Linked DNA regions of Homo sapiens: region 1 is linked to region 2. Evidence: promoter capture Hi-C in 16 types of primary human blood cells and fetal thymus (Javierre and others, 2016). All regions are on one chromosome and are shown on one strand. Each heading gives the region's core, a stretch centred on a gene start or on the middle of the fragment in contact. The rest is flanking DNA. Distances are from core to core; before and after follow the strand shown. Region 1 overlaps ARHGAP18 (Rho GTPase activating protein 18). Region 2 holds the start of ARHGAP18 (Rho GTPase activating protein 18).

The links. Contacts are between HindIII fragments. The CHiCAGO score rates a contact against its expected background, and 5 or more counts as called.
Region 1: a contact is called between a fragment that was not itself captured here and the fragment with the promoter of ARHGAP18 in region 2, in 7 of 17 cell types (monocytes, M0 macrophages, M1 macrophages and 4 more). The highest score is 7.9, in monocytes.

What each region holds. Positions count from the first base shown.
Region 1 is chr6:129,608,885-129,613,655 of GRCh38, forward strand. It overlaps ARHGAP18 (Rho GTPase activating protein 18), which reads right to left. Exons shown (of 15, transcript NM_033515.3): 8 at 2,649-2,726. Among named protein-coding and RNA genes, the nearest start is that of ARHGAP18, 99 kb to the right of the region's middle. The HindIII fragment of the contact is 3,838 bases long and covers 1,434-4,771 here.
Region 2 is chr6:129,708,537-129,713,408 of GRCh38, forward strand. ARHGAP18 (Rho GTPase activating protein 18) reads right to left here and starts at 1,641. Exons shown (of 15, transcript NM_033515.3): 1 at 1,488-1,641. The coding sequence starts at 1,600. RefSeq lists a silencer at 1,915-1,994. The HindIII fragment of the contact is 10,321 bases long and covers 1-4,872 here.

The sequences.
Region 1 (4,771 bases), core at 2,103-4,602, 98 kb before region 2:
CACAACAACCATTCTCTACCCCCAATTATTTTTGTAATTGATGAAATAGGTGAAGGGGAGTGGCAAAGACAGAAAAAGAAATAGAGAGGAGGGAAGAGGGAGTGAGAAAAGGAGGAAGAGGAAAAAAAAAAGAGGAGGGAGGAAAAGATAGAAAAAGGGAGTGGGAGATAGGGAGGGAAGGAAGAGGAGAGAGAGGGGGCATGGAGGGAAAGAATGAGGGGGGAAAGAATGAGCAGGGAAAGAATGAGGGAGGAAAGGACAACAGAGGAAGATCCAGAGAAGAGAGGCAGAAAAAATGGAGGGAGAGGGAGAGAGAATAGTACAGAGAAATTTGGTGGGGCCAGGGGGAAAAGAGACAACCAACATTTTTGCATATTATCTTTTAAATTATTTATAATGGACCAGCTGCTGCATAATTTGGCATATGACAACAGGCTGGGTTGAAGAGTTGAGCCAGCTGAATCCACTTAATTGGCCTTCTTAGAAATTACACTTAGTTAAACTTGTCCTTCTGCCAGCCTTCTCGTTGCAAAGTAAAATCTGCATTATATTCACTATTCTGTACTGAAGTAAATGTATTTTTGCCTCCTGTGAGCTGGCCATTGCAGTCTGCTAGTGAGGGCCCGAGTGCTTTGAACTCGGTGAATTGAGGACTATCTTGCCAATGTGGGTAATATGAAGTTATGTTTGTTACCTGTTTCTGAGGAATTATATCTTTGTTAGTGAATGTACTTAAAAGAACTCGTCTCAGAATCACACAATGTCCACTAGTGGCAAACGTGCTATAGGTGTTACATGAAGTGAGACAATGACAAGCTATGAAACTTACAAACACCACAGTTTCAGGGAGCTCTAAGTACCAGACACCAAACCCAGGGGACACAAGTGGAAAATTATGATCAGAATATATCAGGTTACTCGAATCCTATTAAAATGAGATCACTATGTAGTAAGAGCCAAGGAGGCCGAAACTGGTGTCCTAAATCAAGGCAACTTATCAAAAAAAGCAGGTGATGCAAACTGTGAAATGTATAAAGAGTAATTCCAATCCTGGCAACACCACAGCCCATTAGAAGCAGGCCAGGACAGTGTGCACTCCCCAAGAAACACTTAGTCCTGATCCAGCTCTAACGATTTCATAAAGAATGGGGTTATGAAAATGAAGAGAGATTCTCTCTCTTTTCTCCTATTTTCTCTTGGATTTTCAAATTCAGGAAGACAATGTATTGGATGTGGGCAGTGGTTACTTGTGCTATCTCAGTGCAGAGCTAAAGGTGAATTTGGAAGATAGGGTAAAAGTTAGTAGTTAATGGCTGCTTCCAGATACAGCTACAATTCCAAGTATGAGTCCCCTTTACATTTAAATCCCCTGAGGGGATATGCAGTATGCATCCCCTGTAGGGTAATTCCATCTTTATCATGCATTCATTGGAAGCTTTATCCCCCAGGCCAAAAAGTGAGGCACAAAGATGACAGCAGGAGGACACGTGGTACCCTGGAACAGTGGGAAGGAACTGTCATCCAGAGAGAAGAAAAGGCAAGGGAGAAGGGATGGCTCAAATTGGGAAGTCTAGGAATTATTCTTTCACCAGCCAGACTCAGGCTACCCTGGATGCAGCAAGACAGGGAACTGTGTGAATCAGGAAGGTGGTTGAGAGTGTCTCGTCTGGCCGGCTCACTAAGACTAATTATGCATAGGATGTCAAGGTCCCCCATCTGCAGGAGTCTATGATCCTGGCCTTTTTCTTTTTTTTTTCTTTTGAGACGAAGTCTCGCACTGTTGCCCGGGCTGGAGTGCAATGGTGCGATCTTGGCTCACTGCAACCTCTGCCTCCCAGGTTCAAGCGATTCTCCTGCCTCAGCCTCCTGAGTAGCTGGGATTACAGGTGCCCAACACCATGCCTGGATAATTTTTTGTATTTTTAGTAGAGACAGTGTTTCACTATTTTGGCCAGGCTGGTCTCAAACTTCTGACCTCGTGATCCGCCCACCTTGGCCTCCCAAAGTGTTTTTTCTTTTATTTTTAAGAAACAGGGTCTTATTGCTCTGTCACCCAGGCTGGAGTGCAGTGGGACAATGACAGCTCACTGCCACATGGGACTCCTGGGTTCAGGCAATCCTCTCCACTCAGCTTCCTGAGTAGCTGGAACTCCAGGTGACCACCACAATGCCTGGCTAATTTTTTAAAATTATTTTTTGTAGAGACAGGGTCTCACTTTGTTGCCCAAGGTGGTCTTGAATTCCTAACCTCAAGCAATCCTCCCGCCTTGGCCTCCCAAAGTGCTAGGATTACAGGTGTGAACCACCACGCCCGGCCCTGACTTCCGTAAACTCAATTGCTACTACTCATCCTGGCTAAATCTATCACAACTATCCCCACGCCATTAATATTTTAACTCATCACATTCTTTTGTCATAGTATTATTATAGGTAATATGGTGATTTTGAAAACAAAACAAAACAAAAAACTTAGCAAAAACCAGAAGGGACTGTAGAAAAACTAAACTGAATGGTAAAAGGTTTTATTGTTTTATTTTATCTACTTTACTAACAATGGAAAAAAGGGGTAGAGAGGACAAGTTAGCTTTTAAAATGCATAAGTGTAAATAAACAATAAAATGTTTACATTAGTAGAACCCAGAGATTACCTTGATTCTAATGGCAGCTCCAGGGATCCGTAAGAGGCCTTCTGTTTCCAAACCTCTCTCTTCAATTCGAGAAATCAGCTGTGCATAAACAGAGAAACATTCTAATTTCCGTATTTGTAACAGGTACAATTCCGAATTTAACATCTGTTTCACATATAAATAAAACTGATTACAATGACATGTAAACTGGATTTTATGAGGTTTTGAATGCTATTTTACTACCACTGTCCTTCAAAACAATAAGTCCAGAAACTTTTGTTATAATTTAGAAAAAGTTGGGCCTTATGCTACTTTATAACAGAAGTGTGTAATTTCACACAACAGCTGTGGTACTCCAAACAAACAGAATAAAGATGTTCACTGTTTAAAAGCAACTAAGAACATCTATTTATTCTGCTTTTCCAGAAACCTACATTCTGCAATCAAATAAATCTTATGAAAATCTAGCATTTGCATATTTACATCTCATTTTTAGCTTGTTCCAAGAAAGAATTATTTATGACATGCAGAAAAAAGACTGTTTGCAAATATTCATTTTTAAGTCTTTGGTGTTAAACAAAGAAAAATGTCCTTGTATATGGCCTCTAAGTCATACCTGATGCCCAATGAATACGCTGATCTAACTCCAGATTCCCACAAAAAGCATTTTTTTGTTTTTGTTTTTTAAAAAGGCAGAAACCCGCAAAAAGAAGGCAAATGGAGAAATTACAATGACTACTGGAGGCTAAGAAGACAATAAGAGTGGTCAGATTCTTGATAACGTGATCTTCTTGGAGTAGGCATTCCCTGAGCAGTACACAAAGGCCGTATAAAACATATTCTATTTTAAGAAAATCAGTTTTCCTGTCCTCAGTTTGAATATAAGGCATTTCCTAGCATCATATAGGTTTTCCTCCCTGGCACCCACTCTCATTTCACAATTGCCTTCCCTGCTTTATAAAAGACAGACCTATTCTTCACTCATCCACAGTCTTACTATAATATTCTCTGCATGCCCTAAGGCATAAAATCTTCTAGAGTATCAAAAGAATGTAAAAAAAAAAATTTTCAGGGAAGCCTCCTTTAATGATTAAACAAGGCTCTATAAACTACCTGGAGCTTACTGTTTTTCCCTTGCACATAAAAGTGTCTGTTAGGAGCAAAGCATCATAAATGAGGTATTTTGACCTTTGTCTGGATATTCTGAAGTTAGATATATTGTAGTATGTGGACACTGGAAGAGATGTCAACTTTTCTTTAAACACTTCACCTCTTCTATTCCTGGGTTATATTATGGCCAAAGATGCACTGATATTGAGGAAGTCAGTAAGAACTAAGCATAGCAGTCTCAAAATTCTCCTAAGGATTTATTATTAGGAAAAGAGAAGCATCTTTGATCAGTCAAAGCAGTACAGGATTTTTAAAAATTCATCTGGAGTAGGCCGGGCATGGTGGCTCACCCCTGTAATCCCAGCACTTTGGGAGGGCGAGGCGGGCGGATCACAAGGTCAGGAGATCGAGACCATCCTTGTTAACATGGTGAAACCCCGTCTCTACTAAAAATACAAAAAATTAGCCAGGCGTGGTGGCAGGTGCCTGTGATCCCAGCTACTTGGGAGGCTGAGGCAGGAGAATGGTGTGAACCCCAGAGGCGGAGCTTGCAGTGAGCCAAGATCGCAACAGTGCACTCCAGCCTGGGCGACAGAGCGAGACTCTGTCTCAAAAAAAAAAAAAAAAAGAAAAGAAAAAAAATTTCTGGAATATTTTCCAAGACCACATTTTTCAAGTAACACTGGATAAAATCCCATAGCAAAAATTTTAGGCGAATTATTTTAGATCAGATGGGCGTTATTCAAAATAAAGCATTTAAAACCTAATGTAACCAATATTCAATGTATAGCCAATTTTCATTTTATTTGATCTTATAAAATGTTTAAAATGTTTCTAGTCCTATTAACAAAAAGTACAATTGTATGCTAGCTGCTGGAGCAAATTAGTTTTCAGCAATATATGCCTTTCACTTTCATTAAGTACACAGGAAAAAGTGATTGTGACTTCTAAATAACTGAATGAGCGTAATTTCTGCATTTTAATATTTGAGTCCTTTTCATTATTCTCTAAGGCTAAAAACCAGCACCCAATAG
Region 2 (4,872 bases), core at 391-2,890:
AACTAATCCCTGGGGTTTGAGTCCTACGTGAAAATGAGAGGTTAGGACTCAGTCCTTAAGGTCCTTTCCATTCTCACAATCAAGATCCAAGATTCAGCTCAGGTCCTCAGGCCATTCAGCCTAAAGTCGGAGAATGTCCTGAGCTTGTATAATTTTGGCAATTTTGACTGACATGTGGAATCCAAGTTATGGCTGGGTATGGGGTTGGTGTTGCAGGCTGCTTTACTGCTTAATGATTACTAATACATTACAGAAAAATGGATGAAAACACTTCAAGATCTCTTGATTTAATGATTTAACATTAAGTCATTTAAAATGATGGAAAATGAAATGGTAACACAGCTAAGGCACAAGCACCAAATCTTTTTTATCTTTGGAAATGAATTCATTCAATGAAATACATACTGTGGATGCTATGTGAGAAACAGTTCCCGTCAGCTGGGAGTCTAACACTGAGTATTACAGCCATTCCTTTGATTTTTCTCCCTCCCTCATATTTGGAGATTTTAAAACAAATGAAAGGCAGCATTATTTCAGCTTAAGGCACAGGCATAAGTCACATAAGAACAAAGAAGGTTTTATTATCACATTAAGCATTGAGGAGGAAATGTGCTTACCGATAACTAATTTAGTGTTCTAGGCTATTAGGTTAGTATTTGCTTCTTGCAATCTTCTAGGCCAATATTTACTATTTATATCTTGATGGAGGTAAAAATGTTCAGCTAGTGAGAAGGTCATTAAGGAGAGAAAGAAAAAAAAAAGCCCTTGGAAAATGGAACAAAGTACACAGATAGGGAGAAAGGTACCCTTTGCGCCTCAGTGGTCTATAGAACATTTGCCCTCTCTGCCTATAAAGTGATTTAACATTAACCACATTTCACTCCAGCAGCAGAGTGCTATCTCCTGACAAAAACTCCTTTTTGAAAGCCTGGGGGAAAAAAAATCCACATACACAAAAGAATGTGAAACATATTGCCACAGGCCAGTGTCTTGGGCTTTTTGCCTAAGAGGTTTGCTTTCAGCAAAGAGAGGGGGGAAAAAAAACACTCTAACAACAACAGCTTGTACAGTACAGTGAACAGCCTCCCTGCTTTTTGGCAGACTTTCCCAGCGAACAGTTCCAGTGGCAGTGCCTTGAGCCCATTCAAGAATTCCATTTCATAGGAAAGGAAGTGTTTCAGATAGACCTATTTGATCTTTCAGCATGTGCAAATGCACCTGCTAAATAGCTAGTCTGACAGCCCATATAGCCCTCTCCCCAGTTCCTTCTTCTCTGTCTTCACCAGTAATCATATGGGTTATTTCAGACTTGGACTAGGTGAGATGAAAAGTACATAAAAATCACGCCAAACGTTGCTACTGCTGCTGCACGAGCTCAGGCTCGACGTGCAGATGGAATTCCCTTCTCCCCACGCCAACTTCCCTGTCACTTTCTTCCTGGAGCAGGTAAGAGGGTTTTGTTTTGTTTTCAGCTTCCGAAGGCTTACCTCGAGGTGGCTTCCTCCCCTGCCTTTGCATGGCTGTTCCCGACGGTCTGGTCCTTGCCGCTGGGGTGGTAGGCTGTTAGTACCACTCCCTGGGAACTGGAGAGCCAGCTCATGGTGAGAGAAGGGACATACTTTCTGCGATCCTGACACAGAGAAGGGGAAAGAAGTTCCTGTCTCGCCTGGCAACTCGCTCATTAGCATTGGCCAGCTCCTCCCCGCAGGCTGGCGATTCACACGGGGAGGGGCGGGGTCTGTCCAGGGAAGGGCTTCCTGCCTCTCCAATTAGAAGCTGCAACTCACAGCATGGTTTCAACTCTGGACAATTGCACTCTGGGCGGCTTTGGTTAAAGGAGGCGAAGGGTGGAAGCGACGGGTTGCACCCACCCCCAAGTTAGTCTGATCAGATTAAACTGCCAGAACGTATATTCAACTCATCACTGTAACTACAAGCCGTCTTACTTAGGAAACCATGAGTTGCTGCCAAGGCTTTTTTTTTTCCCTCCCCAATTCCTCTATCTTATAATTTCTGCTACTTAATGTAACATGAGTAAAGGCATTTCTTAACCCCTTCATGTTCAGCGTTAAAATTAGCCATAGTAAAAAACAACGAACCCGCGGCAAAACTCTGCAATCCAGACGACGAGAAAGGCTTGATCCTTGTGTCCGGTTAAAAATGCCCTCATAAAAATTGTGTGTCCTGGAATGTCGTCGTCTTTCACATAAAGCCAATCTCAAATATACGTCTTGTTTTAGCAAAATATTTTTCAGCACCAAAAAGGGATAGACCTACCAATGCTCTGTTAAGTGTTATTGCTGAGAACAAGAGAAGTCCCTGCCATTTGTTGAGCACCTACTATATGCCAAGCTCTCATGGACGGGGGTTTCACATGTATTATCTCATTCCATTCAATTCTCTCTCTCTCACACACACACACACACCGTACAAGATAGGTATCACTATCATCTGTGTTATACATAACACAAGGAAAGTAAGGCTGAGGGACGAGTTAAGTAACTTCACTAAGATAACACAGTTGCTAGTGCCAGAAGCTGGATTTGAACAGAATTCTAGGCTACATTCCTTTTATTTTTCACCAGTATGCTCTTCTTTGTTTTGCAGATTAAGAAACAAGATCAAAATTATCATAAACACAAAAGACAGCTCTGTTCTTTCTCCCCATCTCCCCTCCAAAAAAAAAAATCACTTTTTTGGTTTGTTTTTGAATCAGGGTCTCACTCTGTCACCCAGGCTGGAGTACAGTGGTGATTGTAACTCACTGCAGCCTCAACCTCCCAGGCTCAAGAAATCCTCCAGCCTCAGCCTCCCCAATAGCTAAGACCACAGGCATGCACTACCACGCCCAGCTAATTTTTTTATGCTTTGTGGAGAGGGAGGGTCTCACTGTGTTGCCCAGGCTGGTCTTGAACTCCTGGGCTCAAGCAATCCTCTTGGCTCAAGCTCCCAAAGTATTGAGATTACAGGCATGAGCCACCACGCCTGGCTTCTACTCTGACATACCCAGTAGTCTGAAGGTTTTTTTAGATTTTTATGATTCATTCAACTCTCTAGAATTCCTCTTGAACAAGTTTCCAATTCCATCATTACATAAACTTATTGCTTATACCTTATCATTATTTAAAACAGTCATGAAAAATAATTTCTTCCTCCTTACATACTCTAGAAGTATCTGAAATTTATTTTTGAACCCTCTTTCTTATAATTTACAAAAGTCTTCCTTAAAAGGAATTTATATCTTCCTCCCTCCCCCCTGCACAACTGCTCAACCTTCCCATTTCCACTTCCATAGGACTTTACTTGCTGTCTCCTTTTTATCCCCATGACCTCAACCACCTCTGGATCCTATAATGCAGTCTTAGCTCCAATATTACAACAGCCCTTTTAGCTCATCTCCCTGTCACCTCCTTTAAATTGCTTTGACATTATGATCACACCCTGGCACTCATGATCCCTCTCCTCGCTTAAAAACCTTCATTGGCTCTCTATTGCTAACAGAGCCAGTTCCAGGCTTTTGAGCAGATCACTGGGCATTCCTGCTACCTTATACATACAAGTCTTTCCATCTGCTAGACACAATCTTTTCAGGTCCTACTATGATTCTTTTCTCTTCATCTGACAGCTAACTTAAATTTTGTACCTACTGAGCCTTCAGTAAACACTGAATGGAGGAAAACCTGAATGAATTGAAAGTATCCTTTAAAACTCTACTAAATTTTTTTTTTTTTTTGAGACAGAGTTTCGCTCTTGTTGCCCAGGCTGGAGTGCAATGGCATGATCTCGGCTCACCACAATCTCCACCTCCCAGGTTCAAGCGATTCTCCTGCCTCAGTCTCCCGAGTAGCTGGGATTACAGGCATGTGTCACGACGCTGGCTAATTTTGTATTTTTAGTAGAGACTGGGTTTCTCCATGTTGGTCAGGCTGGTCTTGAACTCCCGAACTCAGGTGATCCGCCCACCTCGGCCTCCCAAAGTGCTGGGATTACAGGCATGAGCCACCGCGCCCGGCCAACTCTACTAAATCTTTATATTAAAATTGGTAATATTAGATAAGCGGTTCCCATGCACATACCAGTGCTAACCTATGAGGAAATGTTCATCAGTTCAGGCAAAACAAAAACTATAAAGAGAGGGAGGCAAAGATTAAAGTAAATTAGAATATATGTGTTTTGTCTTTTCAGTGTCCTTACATGGAAAAAATGTTAATAACCAGCTCATCCACCCCTCCTTTTTTATGTAGCTACTCTGAAATGCAAACATATGGGAATCACTATCTTATACAATTATTGATGGTAATCACTACATTATCTTTTGGAAATTCTTTTCTGTTTCCCTCCCACCTTTTTCTCCCCCCTTACTTCCCTCTACCTCCCTTTTTATTATCTTCCTTTTTTTTCTAGTTTTCCTTCTTCCTTTGCTATGTCTTTAGCCTGTCAATGTCATCCATGCCCATTGGCAGCCACGGGCACTGCATCTCTCATGTGACAGTTTGCGATGAAGATTTTGTCCAGTTATAGCCAAAACAATTATTTAGTTATATTTTTGCCTAATTATGGTCTTTTCACTTGTTTAATAACAAATCACAATGTACAGGTTGAAATGTAATTGTTTTACAATGTCAAAATAATATTTGGGTTTGCAATATCCACCGTTTTTAATTTCTGTGAGGCAGAAAACCAAATGTGATACAAATTGATTTACATAGCTTAGTACATAAAATTTGAATCCTTCTAATTTAGCTCTCAAATACCTGAAAATCCTCTGAGCTTTTTCTCCTTTCCTCCCACCAAGCCCTGTTGCTACTGGTCGAAGGGTATTACCTATCACAGGCAGAGAGCTGGTAGGACTGTGGCCTGGTGTTCATAGCC